Regions from separate parts of the Homo sapiens genome. Here region 2 is linked to region 1. The links are contacts of gene promoters, found by promoter capture Hi-C in blood cells and fetal thymus (Javierre and others, 2016). All regions are on one chromosome and are shown on one strand. The core of a region is centred on a gene start or on the middle of the fragment in contact, and the rest is flanking DNA. Distances in the headings are between cores, read along the strand shown.

Evidence for each region. Contacts are between HindIII fragments. The CHiCAGO score rates a contact against its expected background, and 5 or more counts as called.
Region 2: a contact is called between a fragment that was not itself captured here and the fragment with the promoter of PGBD2 in region 1, in 3 of 17 cell types (naive CD8 T cells, total CD8 T cells and non-activated CD4 T cells). The highest score is 7.4, in naive CD8 T cells.

What each region holds. Positions count from the first base shown.
Region 1 is chr1:248,902,644-248,909,640 of GRCh38, forward strand. PGBD2 (piggyBac transposable element derived 2) reads left to right here and starts at 3,592. Exons shown (of 3, transcript NM_170725.3): 1 at 3,592-3,699. RefSeq lists enhancers at 3,222-4,143, 3,668-3,857 and silencers at 3,478-3,537, 3,948-4,037. The HindIII fragment of the contact is 4,441 bases long and covers 1,557-5,997 here.
Region 2 is chr1:248,869,076-248,876,072 of GRCh38, forward strand. TRL-CAA4-1 (tRNA-Leu (anticodon CAA) 4-1) reads left to right here and starts at 4,780; the gene lies at 4,780-4,885. It overlaps TRE-CTC2-1 (tRNA-Glu (anticodon CTC) 2-1), which reads left to right and starts at 5,173; the gene lies at 5,173-5,244. It also overlaps a transcript of PGBD2 not described here. RefSeq lists enhancers at 3,163-4,004, 4,005-4,846, 4,441-4,550 and silencers at 4,801-4,850, 5,121-5,270. The HindIII fragment of the contact is 9,859 bases long and covers 1-6,997 here.

The sequences.
Region 1 (6,997 bases), core at 2,342-4,841:
CAACATGGAATACTATGTAGCAATAAAAAGGATTGAGATCATATCTTTTTGCAGGGAGATGGATGGAGCTGGGAACCATTATCCTCAGCAAACTAATGTAGGAACAGAAAACCCAACACCACATGTTCTCACTTATAAGTGGGAGATGAACTATGAGAACACACAGATGGGGCAGTGGGGGTGGGGTGGCGGGGAACAACACAGTGGGGCCTGTCAGGGACCTATGGGGAGGGAGAGCATCAGGAAAAGTAGCTAATGCTTGTTAAGCTTAATACCTAGGTGATGGGTTGATCTGTGCAGCAAAATCAGCATGGCACATTTACCTATATAACAAACCTGCACACCCTGCACACGTACCCCTGAACTTAAAATAAAAGCTGAAGAAAAAACAAGTTTTTTTGTAGAGATGGGATCTTCCTATATTGCCCAGGCTGGTCTCAAACTTCTGTGCTCAAATGATCCTCCTGCTTTGGCCTTCCAAATTTCTGGGATTTCAGACATGAACCATTGCTCCTGACTCCCTATCAACTAATTCTTAACTTTAAATTTATTTTTATTTTTTGTTTTCTTTTAGAGACAGGGTCTCATTCTGTCACCTAGGTTGGAGTGCAGTGGCATGATCATAGCTCATTGAGGTCTCAAACTCCTGGGCTCAAGCAGTCCTCCTGTCTTAGCTTCCTGAGTATCTGGGGCTACAGGTGTGTACCATCACACCTGGCTAACTTTAATGTAGCATAGTCTTACTATGTTGCCCAGGCTGGTCTTGAACTCTTGGCCTCAGGCGATTCTCCCACCTCAGGCTTCCAAAGTGCTGGGATTACAGGTGTGAGCCACCACTGCCCAGCCTGATTCTTAACTTTATGCAGGACATCAAATCCTTAATCATACATAGTGCGTCAAATCAATTCAATTGTCATCGGAATGCATGCCACCTCCATATCATTTATTAACAAGCAAGCTTCAAGAAACCAGCAATCTCTTCTTATCCTGGACCCATTAATCATGGGCGCTTGGGAGTTCTAGCCTGAAATTATTTGGCATCTGGTTCTTTCTTCAGGTCCAGCTCACCTGATATCTCTAGTAATTTCCTTAACTAAAATATCCTGATGGACTAATGAGTATTTTCTCATAATTCCATACAACTGTGGTTTCATGTATGTGACATTCTTAATTGTTGGGTAGGCTGTGATACTGCTATGGCTGTCAAAAACTTTAATGTAGTCAGCAACTTGTAGCTGAGCTTTAATTGCTGCTATGTACTAACATCATCAACCATAAGGTGTTATTTAGTCAATGCGACATGAGAATTTTTATATGTAAAGTCTCACCCCATACATACACACAAAGACATGTACAGGTGAAATAAACTAAATGAAATAAATTAATAAATATATAAGTTTAATTCCCTAAGTCCATTTTCTTCTTTTTATGTTTTTTTTTTATTTGTTAACTCCCTAAAGCAAGATAGTATCTATAAACAAACTAGGCTGCAAGGCTTTTATGAAATTTACTCATAATACACATAATTTAAATATTTTCCCCAATTTTTTCCTTAAAGCTTATTTAGCCTATTTCTCAATTAAAGAACTTCAAAATATGTATTTTCCTCAAAGGATTCTAGCTTAACGGGCTAAATTTTTTTTTTTTTCCCAATTCCTATCATGCAGTTCTTCTGCCATTCTACCCCAAATTTGACATTGTTTTCAAAGATTTGACTTTGTTTTTAAACGTAGCTTTATTCAAAGCAATGCACTGAAAATGTCTAGATGGACTCTTTGCAGCTCCATAAACACTTACACTTGGTCCCGATCTTTTTATTAACTTTAAATTACATATGCAAGTATCCAAATTGCAGTGAGAATTCTCTCTGGATCATAAAGGTATGGAAGAAACAGCCAGCAAGCACCTTATTACTCCTTGTTGAACTCACCCCCTCTTTGACCTCATTTCTTTGACTTTCTTTTGTCTCCAGCCATTCTCAAATGTGCTAGGCTTGCTTCGCCTCAGAGCATTTGCACATGCCATTCTCTCTGCTTCAAATATTTTCCCCCTTGAATTCTGCATGGGGAATTTGCTCTTCATATTCTTTGGCTTTTCCCTCAAATACAACCTTCTCACTTACCAACCTTCCCTGACCAAATTATTTAAAACTGAATTCACAACAGTCTTATTGGTCCCCTTTGCTTCCTTTATTTTCTTCCTAGCACTTTCCACTTTGACATGCCATATATTTTGTTTACTGTCTGGTTCTCCCACTGAAATGACAAGAGGGTTTTTCTCTTGTGCCTTTTCTTTTTCACTGTTCTAACATCACTGCTCAGAGGAGTGATTGTCACAGAGAAGACACTCATTTAACACTTGAATGAATGAATGAGACACAGGATCTGGGGAACAAAGCAAGTTAGAAACACCACCCTACCTTACCTAGAGTAGCACTCCCATTTTCCCATGGCTTATTGCCTGTTTTCTCAATTTGCTCATATGTGGAATGAATGACAAACTAATACGTGCCCTTCACTTCAGAATCTCACAAATGAGCATGATTTTTTTCTTCTGATCCAGGGGTTTTGGAACACACTTTACAGTGACCAAAAAACCTTTGTGAAGTGTCAGTGTGGAGAAGCAAATACAAACTCTTCACTAAGTGGCCCTCTTTTTGAATGTTAACACGGTTTGGTCCCAGGGATTTCTGTGTTCAAAGCCTTTCAGGGCAAGGCAGTTTTCTGCGGAGTACACTGTCCTATATACCTAATGGGCTACTGGGTTTCAGCTGGACAAAGTCCTTATAGAGCCGTGATTCTCAAGAAGTAGGGGGAGATACTTTTATTTGTCATAACTAGAGTGGAGAGAGTGTGGTGTGCTACTGGCATTTAGTTGCTAGGGATGCTCAATATCCTACAATTAAGGTTCTATTTTTACCAAGTAAAAATATAGGTAGGCAAGGTAGCCAGATGAAATACAGGGACTTCCAGTTAAATGTGAATCTTAGATGAACAACACTGTTACCTGAAACTCAAATTTAACTGTATTTTATCCGTGACCCTGCCTCCTATAATGCACAGGACAGCCTCCTTCCCTCTCAACAAAGAATTATCCAGGCCCAAAATGTCAAGAGTGGAGGTTGAGAAACCCTGCCATACAGCAGTGGTTCTCAAGCCCTAGTTTGTACCACAATTACCTTCAGGGTTGGTAAGGCCGATTATTGGGCACACCCTCAGAGTTTCTTACTCAGAAGGCCTGTAGTGGGGTCCCAAGATTTGCATTTCCATCGATTTCCCAGGTGAAGCTGCTGTTAGATTGGGGGCACATTTGAGAACCACTACCCTAGAAAGTCCCCATGCTCTCCTGATTAGGAAGGAGCGAGGAAGGTTTCCAAAGTAGGACAGGGGTGGGAGGGTAAGGGAGAGTGGCGGGAAGAGCTGGCCCGCTGGGGTGGGTTATTTCGGCCGTTCTGGCCTCGCAGGCGTTTTCGGGATCCCTCTAGGCGCCGCGGAGGTCCTGGAGTCTCGATGGTCGCTCGGGCCGGGGCGTGGCCTGGCCCGGGGGCGTGGCATGGAAGGCCGGCCGAGGTGCAGCGAGCCCTCTGGTGCCGGACGTTGCGCGGCCGCGACGCCCGACGCCAACGCAGGCGCAGCGCTCCGATTCGGCGCGGCTCATGGTCCGGTTCGGGCTCGCGAGTCTCCGTCTGGGGTAGGGCAGGTAGGCCTCAGTGTGCTCGCGCTGCAGGCAGGGCTTCGCTTGAGTACAGGAGTGGTTGGCGTTGATGTTGCGTTTTCTCAACGGCGGCATCCGAGGAGTTCGTCCTCACCACTGCGCGCCGACGGTGGGCTGGCGGGACCAGGACAGGAACAATGGGATTCCGAGGGCCGCAAGGGGGCGCTCCTTCTGCGGGTTGGGGTGCGAGGCCGGAGGCCGGGCCGGCTGAGCGGGAGGCGGAGCGGGGTGGGTGGGGACCAGGGCGGGGTCGGGCTAAAGAGGGATGGATTCAGGGCGGGGTGGGAGGGACCAGGGCAGGCTCGGGCGGGGTGGGCGGGACGAAGGAGGCGGGCGGCCTGAGGCTGGCGGCGGGACTGCGAATGCCACGTCACATCCTGGGGCGGGGTGGCTCTGTGCCGGGGCGCGCTGGGGGCGGGTCGTTTTTAACTGCGTCTGCCTGGGAAGCTGCTGAGGTTTCTGAGGGTCTTTGTTTGCCCTTCTTTCTCTTTTGCTAGTGAGGTGAAGAGAAGGGAGGGTTCTTCCGTATCCCACAAAAGCCATTCTGAGCTGTTGGGTGAAGGGGTGGCCTGCCCTTCCACACCTGTGGGATATCTTGTCAGGTGGGAGGAGAGACTGAGAAAAGAAATAAGACACAGAGACAAAGTATAGAGAAACCACAGTGGGCCCAGGGGACCGGCACTCAGCATACCAAGGACTTGCACCAGCACCGGTCTCTGAGTTCCCTCAGTTTTTATTGATTATTGTTTTCATTATCTCAGCAAGAGGAATGCGGTAGGAGAGCAGGGTGATAAGGAGGTCAGCAAAGAAACATGTGAGCAAAAGAATTTATGTCATAAGTTCAAGTGGAGGTACTATGCCTGGATGTGCACGTAGGCCACATTTATGTTTCTCTCTGCCCAAACATTTCAGTGGAATAAAGAATAACAGGGCAGCATTGCTGCCAACATGTCTTGCCTCCTGCCATAGGGCAGTTTTTCTCCTATCTCAGAATTGAACAAATGTACAATCAGGTTTTGTACGGAGACATTCAGTTCCCAGGGGCAGGCAGGACACAGTGGCCTTCATCTATCTCAACTGCAAGAGGCTTTCCTCTTTTACTAATCCACCTCAGCACAGACGGGTGTCGGGCTGGGGGACGGTAAGGTCTTTCTCTTCCCACGAGGCTGTATTTCAGACTATCACATGGGGAGAAACCTTGGACAATACCCGGCTTTCCAGGGCAGAGGTCCCTGTGGCTTTTCATGGTGCATTGCGCCCCTTGTTTATTGAGACTAGAGAATGGTGATGACTTTTACCAAGCATACTGCTTGTAAACATTTTGTTAACAAGACATGTCCTGCACAGCCCTAGACCCCTTAAACCTTGATTCCATACAACACATGTTTTTGTGAGGTCAAGGTTGGAGCAAAGAGGTTGGGGCAAAGTTACAGATTAAGAGCATCTCAGGGCAAAGCAATTGTTCAAGGTACAGGTCAAAATGGAATTTCTTATGTCTTCCCTTTCTACATAGACACAGTAGCAGTCTGACTTCTCTTTCTTTTCCCTACAGTTAGGCACCTGGCTCAGCTTTGGGGCATTTACATCTATAAAATGTCTTTTGAATAATTTTTATCTTGAATTAATTTCAGAGTTTCAGAGTGTTGTGAAACAAGCAAAAATTCCCATGTACGGTTCGTCTGGATTTCCTAGGGGTTAACATCTTATTTTACAAAACAGTCAACAAAACCAGGATATTAACACCTACAGGCCTTATTCGAATTTCTTTACTCTCACCTATTTCCATTTTGTAATTTAGGTTCCAAGACAGCATTTAGTTGTCCTGTCTTTCCTTGGAGAAATTTACATTTTAAACAGCAGCTCTCCCACCTCCCAATCCCCTAGGACCCTTTAGAGTGGCCTGGGGAGCTCCAGGTCTCACACCAAGTTGCTTTTTCTTTGTTGAGTGCCTGGGCCAGTTCAGTTGAGAATGCCCAGTTGGACCTCTGGGCAGCTCGTGACCACCCTCTGCTCTTCCTCCCAGTGCTGCTAGGCTTAGTGAATGGCACCTCTGTGCACCAGCCATAGGGTGCCTGAAATCTAGGAGGCTTCCCCGATCAGCTTTCTCCCCTGCCCTACCCCCTCAACCAATTATCCAGGCTTGATGGTTTTACATTTTAAGTCCTCCTTAAGTGTGTCCATTTCTCTCCATAGGCCCCACCCTTTTGCCGTAGCCTTTTTGTCCATCTCCCTGCATCTATGTTGGGGCCTGCATACTCAGTTGTCCATACTGCACCCAGAATAAGCTTGTTAACATACACCCTTCCTTCTGTTATGCTCTTCCTGTATTTTTTTTTTTTTTAAACTTCCCATAGCTCTTATAAAGACAGGCCTCCTTAACAGGGTCTTCAAGTCTCTGCAGGGCTGGTACAGCCTCTTGTACCCTGTCCCGCAGATTCCTTACTCTGGCGTCACTGCTTTGCTTCTCCTGTGCTGTGCCTTTTGCCTGGGGTGCTATTCCCTGCCTGCTGAGGGAATTGTTACTCTTTCTGCAGCTCTCCATCATTTTGTCTTTTCCTCAGGGAGATATTCTCTGACCTCCCTGACTAGATCAGTTTCCGTTTTACGGGTTTTGATAAACACCTCCTTTCCTTCTTAGCCCTGTCATAGTTACAATTTTATGCATATATACCTGGCACCCAGTAGATACTTCAGATGTTTGCCAAACGAATGAAAAAGTGATAGTGTGGCTGCCTAACAGCCTCTATCTAGACATTATTCCCTTTGTGAGTTTGCTTGGTATGTAGGAGCACTGGTTACCCATGTCCTCTTCCTCTGTTGGTTGTCTCAGGCAGGGCAAGAAAGATGGAGGAGCCACATGTGAGGGGATGGAGGGCCTGGGGAGCACAGTCTACAGACTCCTGAAAGGTAGAATGGGTTTTTGCTGAGCTTCTTGCGTATGTATCCCCCTCTGACCTGGTTGAGTCCACTGTATTAGATTCTTCACTGACAGGTATTTCCTATGCGTGGTTTCAGAGACTCTTTTAGGAGTATATTTTAGTTAGGGTCAAGCATATATCAAGAGCTTCTGGTTCTTTTCTAAATAGTTGTCTCAAAGCCAAATAGTAAAGATGAAAATGAAAGTCTGCAGCAGGTTGAGATGGACGGGGTGCCCTGGAGTGTGGCCATTTGGCTCTGTGGCATGATTAATTTGGTTCAGCGAGTATTTATTGAGGGCCTGCTGCATGCCAGATGCCATGTTGCCTTTTGGGGATACAGAGGTGGGGTCGACCTGAAGATGGAT
Region 2 (6,997 bases), core at 2,101-4,600, 34 kb before region 1:
AATTGTAAATATATATTCACCCAACATTGGGATACCTAAATATATAAAGCAATATTAATACAGGTAAAAGGAGACATAGGTTGCAATATAATAAGAGTAGGGGACTTAAACACCCCACTTTCAGCAATGGACAGATAATCCAGACAGAAAATCAATAAGGAAACATCAGACATAGACTAAACTCTAGACCAAATGGACCTAACACGTGTACACAGGACATTCCATCCAACAGCAGAAGAATGCATTATCTTATATGTAGAAAACCCTAAGGACTACACTAAAAAAGTCTGTTAGAACTAATAAATTAATTCAGTAAAGTTGGAGGATCAATATACACAATCAGTAGCATTTCTACACAGTAATAGTAAACTATCCGGAAAACAAATCAAGAAAACAATCTCATTTACAGTAGCTAAAAAAAGATAAAATACTTAAGAATAAATTTAACCAATGAGCTCTACACTAAAAACTATAAAACATTAATGAAAGAAATTGAAGAAGAAATCACTAAATGGAAAGATATTTCATTTTAATGGATTGGAGGTATCAATATTATTAAAATGTCCATGCTACCAGAGCAATCTACAGATTCAATGCAATCCCTATAAAAATTCCAATGACAGTTTTCACAAAATAGAAAAGACAATACTTAAATACCTTTGAGGAAGAAAAAACAATCCCAAAATTTGTACAGAATCAAAAAGAAACTACTCAATGATAAGAAAGCAAATAACCCACTTAAATAATAGGCAAAGAATCTGAATAGACATTTCTCTAGGGAAGACATACAAATGGCCAACAGATATATGCAAACGTGCTTAATATCACGAATCATCAGGGAAATGCAACTTACAACCACAATGAGATATTACCTTCTGGCCGGGCCCTGTGGCTCACGCCCATAATCCCAGCACTTTGGGAGGCCGAGGCAGGTGGATCACCTGAGGAATTCGAGACAAGCCTGTCCAACATGGTGAAACCCTGTCTCTACTAAAAACAAAAATTATGCTGGGCGTGGTGGTGCGTTCCCATAATCCCAGGTACTCGGGAGGCAGAGGCAGGAGAATCGCTTGAACCCAGGAGGTGGAGGTTGCAGTGAGCCTAGATTGCGCCACTGCACTCCAGCCTGGGTGACAAGAACGAACCTCTGTTTCCTAAAAAAAAAAAAAGATATTACCTTCCATCTGTTAGAATGGCTATTATCAAAAAGATGAAAGATAACTATCATTGGTGAGGATGAGGAGAAAAGGGAAATCTTGCACATTGTTGGTGGGAATGTAAATTAGTACAGCTATTATAGACAACAGTATGGAAGCTCCTCATAAAACTTAAACAAAATTACCATATGATCCAGCACTCGCACTACTGGGTATATATCCAAAGTAATTGAAATCATTATGTTCAAGAGATGCCTGCACTCTCACGTTTATTGCAGCATTACTCACAATGGGTAAGATATGGAAACAACCATAATACCCATCAAGGATGAATGGTTAATAAAATTATGTTATTTGTGACAACATGGGTGAATCTAGACAGCCTTCTGCTACCTGAAATATGCCAGGCATAGGAAGACAAATACTTCATGTTATCCCTTATGTTTTGAATCTAAAAAAATCGAACTCATAGAAAAAAGGAGTAGAATGGTGGTTATCAGAGGCTGGGAGAGGGGGGTGGAATGAGGAAAGAGGGTGGAATGTTGGTTAAAAGGTACATAGTTTTAGTTCAACAGGAGGAATGATTTCTTGTGACCTACTGCACAGAATGGTGACTGTGGTTAATAATAATGCATATTTCAAAATTCCTGCAGGAGTGGATTTTAAATGTTCTGACCACAAAGAAATCATAAAAGCATGGGAGGTGATGGATATGTTAATTAGCCTTATTTGATCATTTCACAATGTGTACATGAATTGAAACATCACATGGTACTCCATAAAGATATATAATTATTATTTGTCAATTAAAGATAAAATATTTTAAAAAGGAAAAAATATTAAAAACCTGGAAATAGACAAAAGAGATTACTAGGTGTCCTTCCCATGGAACTTGGCATTGTCTAGCAGACCTTTGTGGGATTATCTGTTTCCATTGGCATGTGCACCTTTATTAATTTTTATTGACTTGGCTATTTTGCAGCTTGGTAGGGAGGTAGAGGTTAACTTTTTTTTTTTTTTTTTTTTTTTTGAGACAGAGTCTCGCTCTGTCACCCAGGCTGGAGTGCAGTGGTGTGGTCTTGTCTCACTGCAAACTCTGCCTCCCGGGTTCACGCCATTCTCCTGGCTCAGCCTCCTGAGTAGCTGGGACTACAAGTGCCCGCCACCATGCCCGGCTAATTTTTTTGTATTTTCAGTAGAGACGGGGTTTCACCGTGTTAGCCAGGATGGTCTCCATCTCCTGACCTCGTGATCTGGCCGCCTCGGCCTCCCAAAGTGCTGGGATTACAGGCGTGAGCCACAGCGCCCGGCCAAGGTTAACTTTTAGAAAACTAATAGTAATGAAAATGGTTTCTGTCTGAGAGCAAGACCAAGGATAGCAATATAAGTAAAATTTGTCAAGAGACACAACCGATTTATCTCCGGCAAAGAAAAGATAACCCCGGAGTAGAAATCCCAACTTCCATTATCACAGTTTATTACTCAGGATATTAACCCAACTTTAATCTGTTAGCAACCTCTTTTCAGCCTTCATTTGGCTGAATTATTATTTTAAAAGTCTCTCGAAATTCTCCTTTTAATTAGTTGTAACATTGGTAACATTGTATAGGTCATTGACAAAGACCTTCCTTGACCAAACTTCAGTCAGGCGCCTCTGATTCCTGTTTTTGATTAGGCCTCTACCTTGGCCCCTATCCTGTCTTTGGCCTGTAAAGCCTAGTCTTAGCAAACAGTCCTGCTAAGTCAGTTTAGTGTGAATTCCCCCAGCCTTGATATTGATCAAGTTACTCATTCCTCACCTTTGAATTTCTCACCTTTGGTGTCCAAGTCTTTGGCCTCCAGTAAGTAGAATCTTTTAAGGCCTGTTTAGTATGTAACCCCTACTCCTATTAGTAATTTTTCCTGCCTCCCTTCCTTCCTTCTTTCCTTCTCCCTTACCCTTAATGTCTCCTATTAGTAATTTTCTTTCTTTGAAAGGCGAGCTTCATCATAGCTCACTGAAGCCTCAAACTCCTGGGCAGAAGCGATCCTCCTGACTAGGCCTCCCAAAGCACTGGGATTACAGGCCTGAGCTGCCCCACTTGGCCCATTTTCTTAGTAATTTTCCATCCACTGATCCCCCCCACCCCCCACACTCTGCTCCTTGGCTTTAAATTTCTAGTTGTCTTTGTTGATTTGGAGTTGCGCCCAGTCTCTCACCCCTATTGTAATAGTTTGAATAAAATTCTCCCTTGCTGTTTGAACAAGTATCAGAATAATTTTCTCTTTAAAGTTATTATCTTTCATCATTAGTTAATTGAATAAAATCTTGACACGTGGATTTTATATTTGTATGACATTCTTATTTTATTTTATTTTATTTTATTGTTTTGAGACAGAGTTTCACTCTTGTTGCCCAGGCTGGAGTGCAACGGCGCGATCTCGGCTCACCACAACCTCCGCCTCCCAGGTTCAAGCGATTCTCCTGCCTCAGGCTCCCGAGTAGCTGGGATTACAGGCATGTGCCACCATGCCCGGCTAATTTTGTATTTTTAGTAGAGACGGGGTTTCTCCATGTTGGTCAGGCTGGTCTCGAACTCCCGACCTCAGGTGATCCGCCCACCTCCCAACGTGGTGGCGGGATTACAGGCATGAGCCACCGCGCCCGGCTGCATGACATATATTTTAGTTTTTGAAAAATATTTTAGCAAAAGTCACTTTAGTGAGGCCTTACTTAACTGCACAGTCTAAAAATAGAACTTCTCCACCACTTCATTGCTTTTGGTTTTTCCTCACACTCTGTACATGTGATTGTGCTGGTCATCTCCTTCACTAGCAAATCAGCTCACCAAGTTGGGGCTTTGTCTATTTACCGTTGTGTTCCCAGTGGACACTCGATGTTAAGATTCAACGAATGAATGCCTGGACGAGTGGTATCTGGGCTCACAGGTAACCTCACAGCCCACCGGGAGGACACTGCCAGAGCTGCTCTGCACTGCGAGTCCCGGGCCTTCCCATTGGACGCTAAGGCACTCGTTAACTGCTGTGTAAACGCAGCCTGACTTCCCTCACCTCAGGCGAGGCCCGCATCAGGCCCCTCTGACCTAGGACCTCCCGATCCGGCCGTTATCGCCAACCGTATCTGTGTGGTTTCGTGGAGGAAGCGCGGTGGACCTTGAGGGGAGGGTACGCGCAGGCACAATAAAGCAGAAAGCCGCTATAATAATGATGATAATGAAGAAAAACAAAAGCATCCATTCGTCACTTAGTGGCAAGCGTTTTTCCAACTACTTTCCGAGTAGTAACTGCTTGCCAGAGTTTCCCCAGCTTGGGCCGGAAGGTGAGGCGGTAGCTCGAGCTTTGCCTTTCTCAGGCATTGTCCTGCGTTTGCGGGGCCAGGCGCTGGCACACGGTCACTAACCCCTGGTCGTTAGCTTCGATTCCCGGCCTGGGAGAGCGCTATCGGCCACTCCTGGCTGCATTGCAGTCGCGGCTTTCTCCAGAGCTCCGCCGGGAACGGGAAGCGCTGAAACGTCGCGACCAGTCAGTAGGGTTCCCACGGCCGCAACTCGGGTGTGACGCGGCAGGCTGGCACCAGCGGACACAAGTATGAGGCTAAGTGAGAAGCGCTCTGCTTCCGAGTGTCAGGATGGCCGAGTGGTCTAAGGCGCCAGACTCAAGGTAAGCACCTTGCCTGCGGGCTTTCTGGTCTCCGGATGGAGGCGTGGGTTCGAATCCCACTTCTGACACATTCGTTTTATTAGCATTTTATTCCCCGGAAGAAACCCCAGAATTTTCCCGGAGTCCGTTGGTATTTTATTGTCTTCTCCAGGAAGAAGGTTACAACTAGACTACTCATCTTTGCTGCCCGGTTTTCCCTGTCTGCCGCAGCAAGGGGGCTACCTACCAAGGGGAGGGAAGCAGTCTGCATATTCCCAAATGTTGCGAGAAAACCGCATCCAATCATGTTTCTATAGGAGATACGTCACAGGATATTTATTTAGTATAGCATATTGCTAAATGACGCATCATGTCTTCCCTGGTGGTCTAGTGGTTAGGATTCGGCGCTCTCACCGCCGCGGCCCGGGTTCGATTCCCGGTCAGGAAAGTAAGCCGTTTTAAAAACTGTTGCCGCAGGGCTAACCATAGGTGATGTTCCCAGAGTCAGCTATGACTTGACTTCTAAACAAAGGGCAAAACGCACCTGGTGTCCTCATTTTGCAGAGTAGTTACCTGAAATGGACTCTACTGCAGTTTATGCGCGCCGTATATGTAGTCAGTGTCTTTACTCATGATATCTTAAGAACGGAGAAAAAATGCCAGCAGCACAAAATGATCCAAAAAGATAGCTCTGGGTATGCCAAAAATGGCTGGTCTTAAAATTATGTCACAGATTTCAAAAAGTCTCCCTAGGTGTCCAAAGGCCATTAGAATGGCACCTGTTGCCTAGAGGGGCGGGTCAGGGCCGGTCCTAGCTCCTTAACGACGCTTGAGTAATTGTCGCTATGGAAAGAGATCAGGTACTTCTCCCTCACCCCAGCATCTATCTTTTCATTTTTTAAATAAGTAGAGATAATTGAAATAATGCCACAACCAACCCTGGTTTCTCTTTACCTGCAATCAACACTGGTTAATATTTTGTCACATTCTCTCTCTCTCTCTCTCTTCCAAGGTAGATAGATAGGTAGATAGAGATAGATAGATAGATAGATAGATAGATAGATAGATAGATAGATAGATAGATAGACAAATAGATAGAGATAGGTATACCTTCCCTATTCCACTTGAAAGTTGAGATCTGTATGGCCTGGCGCGGTGGCTGACGCCTGTAATCCCAGCACTTTGGGAGGCTGAGGTGGGCGGATCACGAGGTCAGGAGATCGAGACCATCCCGGCTGACAGGGTGAAACCCCGTCTCTACTAAAAATACAAAAATTAGCTGAGCGTGGTGGCAGGTGCCTGTAGTCCCAGCTACTCAGGAGGCTGAGGCAGGAGAATGGCGTGAACCTGGGAGGCGGAGGTTGCAGTGAGCCGAGATCGCACCACTGCACTCCAGCCTGGGCGACAGAGCGAGACTCCGTCTCAAAAAAACAAAACAAAAAAAAAAAAAAAAAAAAGAAAAGAAAAAAAGAAAGAAAGTTGAGATCTGTAAAACTGTCCCCCCAACTTGAAAGTCACAGATATGCCATTACTCCATGTCACACCTAAGAAAATTGACATTAACATGCTGTCATATGCTAGTCTACATTCGAATTTTCCCCAATTGGCCTTAAAATGTCTTTTACAGCTGCTTTTAGTTTTTATTCTAAGTTTTTTATTGCCCATTTTTTAAATTTGGGAAGCCTGTGAAAAATATTTTAATAATTAAAAACTCCTAAACCACATTTAAGTTCTATCTTCTTAACATTTTGTAATATTATGAGCCTATGCACCTAATTTGTTATGGTTTTCCAAAGTTTTATTTCTCTCTGGGTATCTTTTTCAGATCTCCAGGCCAAGGCTGTGTTATCATACACTCTACACGATCAGACGGAACCAGGTCCATGCACGTTTGTGTTTTCCACAATGTTTAAAACAAATAGGCCTGTTTTAACTTCCTGAATTTCTGCTTCTTGTACTGCTGAAATGACTAGTTTGAAATAATTCAAATTGCTACAAATATTTATAGAAATTTTCTTAAATAATATTTATCTAGTGGTGGTAAGTTTGGTAAAATGGGCTGTTTGTCACATCCTTGTTCCTAGAACTGTACACATTCTGCTTGAATATGTGTGACTTTAAACTGTTCTTTTTTTTTTTTTTTCCTTTTTCTTTGAGACGGAGTTTTACTCTTGTTGCCCAGGCTGGAGTGCAATGGTGTG